3 separate regions of the Homo sapiens genome follow, and all the other regions are linked to region 1. The links are contacts of gene promoters, found by promoter capture Hi-C in human tissues and cell types (Jung and others, 2019). All regions are on one chromosome and are shown on one strand. Each heading gives the region's core, a stretch centred on a gene start or on the middle of the fragment in contact. The rest is flanking DNA. Distances are from core to core; before and after follow the strand shown. Region 1 holds the start of KIF6 (kinesin family member 6). Region 2 overlaps KIF6 (kinesin family member 6). Region 3 has its middle 32 kb from the start of DAAM2.

Region 1 (3,177 bases), core at 239-2,738:
TGAAAAAAAAAATTACAGCTATGCCACTCCCCAGCTGGGTGCCTTGGTCACATTATTTAACCTGAGACTCAGTTTCCTAATCTGTAAAATGCGGAAAATGACACCAACCTTGCAGGGTTCTTGTGAGAATGAGAGATAATGCAGATAAAGCACCTGTCAGGTGGCCATTTCTCAAGATACATAAGAATGACTATGCTCCCTTCTAGGCAGAAGAGAGGATGTTTTGAAATATTTAAGAAGCATAAAAAGTGCTGGGCGCGGTGGCTCACGCCTGTAATCCCAGCACTTTGGGAGGCCGAGGCGGGCGGATCACAAGATCAGGAGGAGATCGAGACCATCCTAGCTAACAGGGTGAAACCCGGTCTCTTCTAAAACCACAAAAAATTAACCGGGCGTGGTGGCGGGCACCTGTAGTCCCAGCTACTTGAGAGGTTGAGGCAGGAGAATGGCGTGAATCCAAGAGGCAGAGCTTGCAGTGAGCCGAGATCGCGCCACTGCACTTCAGTCTGGGTGGCAGAGCGAGACTCCGTCTCAAAAAAAAAAAAAAAAAAAAAAGGTGCATACAAAGTATCATTGCTCAGAGTCAGGGCAATGTCTTAACCTTCTTTATACCTTTCTGAATTTAGCACACTAGAGGAAGCACCTGGTAAATATTTAGTTAATTGTTTCTGAATGAAGTACACATGCGTATTCTTTGGGTCAGGATGCTTAAGCATCTACCTATATCTATTAATACAAGGAGTATATGTAAAGGTTCACGTTTATGTTGGAGAATAACAACAGTCAACTAATTACTGAGGCCCCACTGGGTGCAAAGTACTACATATGTGTATGCTTTGTGCATTTGTGTCTATCTATATTTGTATTATTTCAGAGGTACATAAACACGCATCTCTTGCTTGCACGTTTTGCCCGAGTGCCAAAATGTACCTTTGAGTGTATCTGCATGTGCGGTGCTGCGTGAGTTTCCCAGAAAGGTGCAATAAGTGCTTATGTGTAGTTGAAGCGCACACTATACAGGCATACTGAACATGCACTAGTCTGCCCCCGCGTGAACACGTGTGCCTGGGTGCAAAAAAAATGGCTCTCTGCCGGGTCTGCGCTGTGCCAGGTAGGAGTGGCCTGGCTGTCGGTCGCGTAGCTGACAGCAGTGCGCGGGGGTCTTCGCGGCTGCAGGGCTCCTCGGTCAGTGTGTGCGGGATTCCGGGCGGCCTCGGCGCCCACCAGCAAGCCCCTCACCTCCGCCCAGCCCCTTCGCGTGCCGCCGCCCGACCCCAGCCCAAGAGGCCCCGCCGCGCCGGCGCCCCGGAGGCTCCAGCCCGTACCCCTTGTTGGTGCTTCCGGACAGGGGGCTTCACCCTCGCGAATATCTGGATAGTCTGCTTCACCATCTCCTCCCTGGCTCTGCAATGACCCTTGACCTCTCTCAGGCCCGGGCTGCCAAAACTAACTCCCACCACCTCCGGCGACCCACAGTCTTAGCAACAGTAGCTAGGGACACTACCCAGTGAGCACCTTGGCAGCCAGGATCCCGCCTCCTCCCTCTAATTGGTCGCGACCGGAAGGAGGCCACTACGGGGCGGGGCTAGGGAGGGGAGGGCGGGGGTGGAGAGGAGAGCGCTGCGCATGCGCATGAGCGAGTGTCTGGGCTCTGGGTTTAGCGCCGGACCCGGCCTGGACCGTGTGGTTAAAGGGGAACAACCACCATGCCTTGCCCCGCCCCGCTCATTCACCCATTTTATTCTCCATGCCCTTGCCTTTAAAAAAAAATACAGCACTGGGCCGGGCGTGGTGGCTCATGCTTGTAATCCCAGCAGTTTTTGGGAAGCCGAGGTGGTAGGATCGCTTAGAGCCCAGGAATTTGAGACCAGCCTGGGCAGCATAGTGAGACTCCGTCTCTACAAAAAATACAAAAGTTAGCCAAGCGTGGTGGCGCGCCTGTATCCCAGCTACTCGGGAGGTTGAGGCAGGAGGATCGCTTGAGCCCGGGAGGTCGAAGCTGTAGTGAGCCAAGATTGCAGAACTGCTCCAGCCCACTTGGAGATCACAGTCTGAAGAAGGAGACAGATTTTTTTTTTCCTTCACAAGGTCTCTCAAGTGACAAGGAGACAGATTTTCAACAGGAAATCAAAACCAAGGAATACAAACTATGCCATGATGGAATTAGAAGTGGGGCTAGCTCTGTTTTGGAAAAGGATAAAACTGGATGAAGGGGACTGTTTCCCACACAATGGTCACGGCAAGAAAGGATGAGCTCTTCAAACACTGTTAGCACATGAAAAGATAGTCAACATTATTATCCACGTGGGAAATATAAGTTAAAACCACAATGAGGCATCACTATTCATCTATCAGAATGGCTTAAAAAAAAAAAAAAAAAAAAAAAGTGGCAACACCAGATGCTAGCAAAGATGTGGAGAAACTGAATCAGTTGCACTTTACTGGTAGGAATGTATAATGTAAAACATACACTGTATAAAGGTACAGCCACTCTGGAAAATAGTTTGACAGTTTCTTACAAAACTAAAGGTGCAACTACTCTAAGACACAGCAATTGCACTCTTGGGCATTTATCTCAGATGAATGAAAACGTGTGTTCACACAAAAACCTGCGCATGTGTGTTTATAGTTTTAGCACCTTTATTTGTAATAGCCCCAAACTGGAAAAAAAACCCAGATGTTCTTCAGCTGATAGTTTAAAATAACTGGAATACCATTCAGCAATTAAGAAGGAAGGAAGTGTTGATACACGTAACAAATTGGTTGAATTTTCGGGGAATTATGTTTCATGAAAGAAGCCAGACTCGAAAGCTAACTACCGTATGGTTCTATTACTATTGCCAGGGAGGTGTGCAGGGTATGGTTATAAAAGAAATCCTTGTGATGGGCTGTTCTGTATCTTGACTGTGATGGTGATCACAGAAATCTACACATGTGATAGCATTGCATAGAACAAATTACACACATGTTCAAATAAGCACATGTAAAACTGGCAAAAGTCACATAAAATTGAATAAGATTGATGGATTGTATCAATGTCAATTCCCTGATTTTTATATTGTACTATAGTTATGCAAAACATTACCACTGGGGAAAACTGGGAGATGGGTATACGAGTTCTCTCTGTATTATTTTTTACAAAACAAAAAGTTTATTAAAGACACCCTTTTTTCTTTC
Region 2 (3,177 bases), core at 412-2,911, 45 kb before region 1:
ACATTCACCGCAGAGGAAAATAAAAAAATCACATACTGATGTTCAACAAACAAATGACAGCAGAATTTTAAAAGGAAGAATAAGTTACAAAGCACACGTTGAAATAATATGTTGGGCTAAATTTACAACTAACATCTTTGTAAAAACAGACTTGGCCCAAACATCAATTTGTATACACAATTAGAGTTCTGTTATTAAAAACAGATGAAGACAAAAGGAAGCCATCATTTAATTGGTACTAACTGTACCTACTTGTGTGGAAAACAGTGCTGTGTGTACTGATACATGAATTCACATGGCCAAATTTATGATATCTCAGTCTCTTTTTAAAGAGTCCAGTTAATCTGCTTACATCATATCATTTTTAAGGGATGCATTAGGGCGGTATTATCCTCACTGATGCTTACCTTACCACCAGGGGTGAGATACCTAGAAATGGAACGGTGGGGGACAGGGCAAGGAAGACGGAAGAAAAGTTAACAGAGGAGTCATCTGTCCAGTAGAATTTTAGATCCTTTGGCTTCTTCTGAAATTCCCTTTGGCTTTTGAACATGTCATTCTCTCTCCATGGAATGCTATCCAGAATGTCCATGTTTCTGAATTGGAGATCAGCCTTATAATCAATGCATAGATAATACATGGCAGGGTTTCTTTTCTTTTCTTTTTTTTTTTTTTTTTTTGAGGCGGAGTCTCACTCTGCTGCCCAGGCTGGAGTGCAGTGGTGCAATCTCGGCTCACTGTAACCTCCACCTCCTGGGTTCAAGCAATTCTCTTGCCTCAGCCTCCCGAGTAGCTGGGACTACAGGTGCATGCCACCATGCCCGGCTAATTTTTTGTATTTTTTTAGTAGAGAAGGGGTTTCACCGTGTTAGCCAGGATGGTCTCAATCTCCTGACCTCGTGATCCGCCCACCTCAGCCTCCCAAAGTGCTGGGATTACAGGCGTGAGCCACCATGCCTGGCTGGCAGGGTTTCTTTTCTTACATGGAAGCTGTTATAACCTAACAGTATATCTTAAAAGTTCTGGCATCTCAAATAAAACAAGTATAGTTAGTTTTTTTGTTTGTTTATTTTGAGGCAGGGTCTCATGCTGTTGCCCAGGCTGGAGTGCAGTGGCGTGATCTCAGCTCACTGCAACCTCCACTTCCCGGGTTGAGCAATTCTCATGCCTCAGCCTCCCAAGTAGCTGGGATTACAGCGGCACACCACCACACCTGGCTAATTTTTGTAATTTTAGTAGACACAAAGTTTCGCCATGTTGGCCAGGCTGGTTTTGAACTCCTGACCTCAAGTGACCCGCCCACCTCAGCCTCCCAAAGTGCTGGGACTACAGGCATGAGCCACCATGCCCGGGTGTATAATTAGTTTTTAATTCAGAAAACTATCAGCTTCTTAAGAGCAGACATGGCACTTTAATATTTGTCAGTAATTCCTGCTGTACCCATCATAGCTCTGGCTTTCAGTGACTATGCACTGACTGGTTTAGATAGGCCTTCAAACAACTTAGAGTTCAATACAGTAAACAGGAGAACACCAACAGAAAATTCACTAATGCATATATGAAACTGTAGAAGGGAAATGGGTCAGCTACCTTTCTCACAGATAGATAGTAGAGGGAGACATGATGGGCTTATCAATGAAGACCTTAATCTAAGAACTAAAAGAGAGAGAATGCAGTTTAACAGGCAGTGAAACAAATACCCCATGCTACTCTGACAACTTGACAAAGACTAGAAATAGGTGGTCATTAAGCCAGCAGCTTTGCTAAAAAGGCCAGTAGAAGATGTAGTAAGTGGTTATAAAAGTAAGGCAATAAGCTAAGGTAGCTACAGAAGTGGTGCTACCATTCCATAAACATGTATTTAAAACCCTTTTTGTCCCATTTTATTAGGTAAAATAGGGAATAGAAGAAGGACTGCAGGTGGGGAATGCAAAAGTGAATAAAACACAGTGCTTGTCTTTAGTATGGTCAGTGTACAGGACACAGGCAGATAAATACAATTACAATATGATAAAGGCCATGTATCAAGTACTTTGGGTACAAGGAAGAGGGAATAAATGTGTCTGTCTGAGAAAGCCAATAAAAGTTCTTAATAAATGACTTCAAAAAGTAATTCAATGCTGAGAAGTTGAATCTGGGCAAATAAATACATAAAATAAAATAAAATAAAATAAAAAATAACTCAAGACATTTTTATACTATAACATTAAGGCAAAATTTTGATGATCCGATTTGAACACAATGACCATTACAATGAAGGAAAGATCTTCATAATATAACCAAGCTGTTTCCATATTTCAGAAGAATACCCAATTAAAAGCAAAAACAAAAAGACCTTCACTTCTCTATTTACAACAAACTGCCAACACCAAATAGTTCACTATAGGAACTGTATTCTGTTTTGTTTTGTTTCATTTTCTGGCCCTTGTTCATGTATATTTTCATGTATAAAAACAGCACCTGAGGATGTAGCTTTTTATGCTACAAAAAGTAGGAGAGAATACTATTTACCTTAATGTTTTAAAAAAAAACTCTAGAATCTTTTCTTGTCAACAAATCATAATTGCCTTTTAATTTTTTTCTCTTCCTCAACTACCCCTACTTCTTTCAATACTCAAATCCTTCAGCCAGAAACAAACAAAAAACCCAAAGCCAACATTCCATGTAAAATATCAGGGAGGCTAGAGAAGAGGCAGGAGGTTCACTAGATAGATCTCACTTCTCATTTCAGAGTCAGAACTCTTCCCTTCCCAATTCCACGGAGAAATGGACAATAAGCAGTTTCATCCTTAGTTTCTGTGGACTGGAAATGCAATTTCTGGCCCTGTGACAAATTCCGCTATAACAAAGCCAATAGCATGCCCCGTGGAATTCACTGTAATGGGATTTTAACTGTATTGGCATTATGTACAAATCCAAAGAAAAGCACATCTTAGGGAATGATGAATGTAGGAAGAACTACAGGGGTATGTAGAGTTTGGAAAATTCACCATTTTTTTCTTTCAGAGAAAAAAAATGCTCATCGGGGGAAATACTGAATTCTGTCAACTTACTCATTCCACAGATATTTATGAATACTTACTACATATCATGTGTCAGGCACTGGTCTCACTGCTAGGAATGCAGTAATAAGAAGACAGAAAAGAACCATGTTCTCATGGAACTTATGTATGAATC
Region 3 (3,177 bases), core at 414-2,913, 35 kb after region 1:
CTGGTCAAGCTCAGCCTTTTATCTCCATCCTTGCCCCCTTCTATACCACACATTTTTTTTGAGCTCTGAATGTTAAAGGGAGAAAGAACAAAACAATAACATTTTTTTTTCCATGGGGAGTTATTCTCCCCATGCCCATAAACAAATTGACTCCTCTTTCACCAAGATGATGCCTCTGACAGTGCTCAACTGTGCTGGTAGAGGGGTTTCTTTAGTAGCAAGAGACAGCTGAGGGAAGTGAAATGTTTAACATGATAAGAGTCTCATGGGGGCTCTTTAAAAATATTACAGGACTCTGCGTCCCAAGCTATACTTCCAAATTAGTCTGCTCAGAAAAATGGCACTGGGAAAGTGTTTCTAACAAGTGCCTCAGGATCAGATGTATTTGAAAGATACTAGTAGAATGGTTAAGAACCTGGGTACATAAAGCCAGCTTGATTATGTTTTCTTTTAGATTCTGACCCTCGCTTGCTATGTCACTTTGGAGAAATTAGCTAACATTTCTGTGCTTTACTTTCTTCCCTGCAAAGTGCAATAATGAACAGTGCCTCTGTCACCTGATGCTACGGGGACCCAAAGAGTTGATGGTTACTGAGTGTGTAAGACAGTGCCTATGATGTAGTAAATTGCTCATGACATTTTAACTCTTATGATTGTTGCTGTTATTATCATTATCATTCTTACTAGTGACAGATCTAATTCAAGAAAGATCTTGAGCACTTGCCAGATATTACGCTAGGGTCTAGTGCAGTGTGCATGTGTTTGTGGGGGTAGGGATAGGATACAGAAGTGAGCAAGATCCACCATCTGCTCATAGCTAGGTGAGTTTTTTGTTACCCATTCACATTTTTCTGTCTAATCTCCATTACTCAGAGCATCCATTCAGCAGCTATCTGCCAGTATTAGGAGTGGGGTCTGTGGTTGTTACAGGAGCAAGCTAACAGTCTTTGATCTTGGCTTCAGAGAGTCTCTGATGTGTATAGGAAAGAGTTTCTGAGTCATCAGATCAGAGTTCAAGTCCCAGGCTATCTCACTTACTGGAGGAATGAATGCCCTTGGGCAAATTATTTCAGTTCTCTGAGGTTCTGTTTCCTAATTTCTGAATTTATTATACCTTTTTGGGCTATTGTGAAGCTTAAATGAGATGATATACATAAAAACTCCTGGCACATCATAGGGGCCGAATAAATGGGTGTCTCACCTTGTTTCATTAGCATTGTTTTGGCTCACTGAGCTAACCCACCTACAGAGCCCAGATAAGCCCAGCTGTTTCTCTAGGAGAGCAGAGTTCCAAAACCTAAAAGGATTCCAAAACTGCCAGTCCCATAAGTCAAATAGCCTATCTTCACTTTGGAGGTCTTCATGGAACTATTAGATTGTGATGCACAGGACTTTTCACTCCTTACTCTTGTACTGTCTTGTCATTCACTCCTACAGTCTGGGGGTGTTATCAGAGTTTCAGGGTCATTTTCAAATACTGATAGATATACATGCCAGTTCAATAAAGCCAATTATTTCCCCACAGTTTGGCTTTGATTTCATCAACCTGATTTGGAATCCTTGCCCTCTGCCTCAATGTTGAGCACATCTGGCCCCTATAAACATGCTATTAAAGTGTTTTCAGAATGAACTTTGAAACAGTACAGTAAGTAATACCATCAAAACAGTAGTCATGGTAAAATAATCTTTTTAAACAGCCTAATTTTTTTGGGCTTTGATGTGTCCAAATTTCAAAAGAACGTATAAACTAATTGGTATAAATTTCATTTAAAAAAATCAGAACATTTCCTAAAGTAGTTGCCAAAATGATGCCTAATTTAGAATTGTTCTTTCTTTCTTAGTTTGCAAGGGATTTGGTATGGGTTAAGGTTAGGTAACAGAGGTTGCAAATCAAAATTTACTTCTTACAGATCTTAAACTTCAGAGAAAGTTAGTCCCCCAAAATGGATTGGAAAGTCCTTGAGAGCTTTGTGAAGGCGAAGGGCAGGATTATGCAAAGATAGTAACAGGCAGTTCATGACCTTTTTGCCATTTTTCAAGTGTGATGGTGCACTCCTCCAAGTTAAAACAGAAATAGAAATGTAACTAAAACCTTTTGGCACTCAGAATAATGCTAAAAATCTGCTAGATAAGCAACTAGTGTTCAAAGGTAAAATAAATCATACAAATTATATTATTAATTTATTTAAACATGAGTCTGTACTTTGGGGAAAAATTATTTCTGGAAGAATAGAATGGAATTCTGAATGTAGTTGCCAAGACATCCCTTGAGGAAAAATTCCAGCCACTAGATAACCGGGATGTAGTAATAACCACAAGAGTAGACTGCCAGTTCCTAGAATACTTAGCCAGAACTGATCCTGTGTCCTCTGTACAGAAAGAAGAGGTTATACCTGCAGTGATAGAAAGAATGCCACTTTTTTTTTTTAAGAAAGTCAAATACGCACCTTTAATCAATCACATAGGATGCCCAGGTTCTAATTAACCTTAGAGCTTCCCCATGCCAACAGCTTCCAGTCAGACCATCCCTAAAGCATTCTTTTTTTAAATTCCCTGACTGTAGGTATACTTCTCACTTCTTTGCCTGCTTTTGAGTCTCTGTGAAATGCAAGTGATGGTGGCTACTTCCTTGTGATAGCAAGCTCTGGATGAGCAAGACTTTGCTTGGTCTCACTTGAGTAGTCTTTTTCTGTTTTTTTTTTTTCTATTCATATTAAAATTATTTATAGGTCTCTTACCTCTACATAGAGAATTTGTGGCACTTAGGACACATGATTTTCTTTCTTTCTTTTTTTTTCTTTATTTCTTCTTAAAAAAATGGGATACATGTGCAGAACGTGCAGGTTTGTTACATAGGTATATGTGTGCCATGGTGGTTTGCTGCACCTATCGACCCGTCCTCTAAGTTCTCTCTCATCAACCCCCATCCCAAAACAGGCCCTGGTGTGTGTTGTTCCCCTGTCTGTGTCCAGGTGTTCACAATGTTCACCTCCCACTTATGAATGTGAACATGTAGTGTTTGGTTTTCTGTTCCTGTGTTAGTTTGCTGAGGATGATGGCTTCTAGCTTCATCCATGTCCTTGCAAAGGACATGATCTCATTCCTTTTATGGCTGCATACTATTCCATGGTGTATATGTACCACATTTTCTTTCTTTCTTTCTTTCTTTTTTGAGAC

The links. The method cuts DNA at HindIII sites, captures the fragments that hold promoters and counts their contacts. A contact is called where the count stands out against the background at its distance.
Region 2: a fragment that was not itself captured here is called in contact with the fragment with the promoter of KIF6 in region 1 in 1 of the 25 tissues and cell types used here (hippocampus).
Region 3: a fragment that was not itself captured here is called in contact with the fragment with the promoter of KIF6 in region 1 in 1 of the 25 tissues and cell types used here (psoas muscle).

The regions. Positions count from the first base shown.
Region 1 is chr6:39,723,920-39,727,096 of GRCh38, forward strand. It overlaps KIF6 (kinesin family member 6), which reads right to left and starts at 1,489. Exons shown (of 23, transcript NM_145027.6): 1 at 1,326-1,489. The coding sequence starts at 1,391. RefSeq lists silencers at 1,210-1,279, 1,492-1,823, 1,530-1,729. The HindIII fragment of the contact is 25,522 bases long and covers 1-3,177 here.
Region 2 is chr6:39,678,954-39,682,130 of GRCh38, forward strand. All of the region lies in intron 3 of KIF6 (kinesin family member 6), which reads right to left. Among named protein-coding and RNA genes, the nearest start is that of KIF6, 45 kb to the right of the region's middle. The HindIII fragment of the contact is 9,076 bases long and covers 1-3,177 here.
Region 3 is chr6:39,758,434-39,761,610 of GRCh38, forward strand. No RefSeq gene overlaps it. Among named protein-coding and RNA genes, the nearest start is that of DAAM2, 32 kb to the right of the region's middle. The HindIII fragment of the contact is 4,847 bases long and covers 1-3,177 here.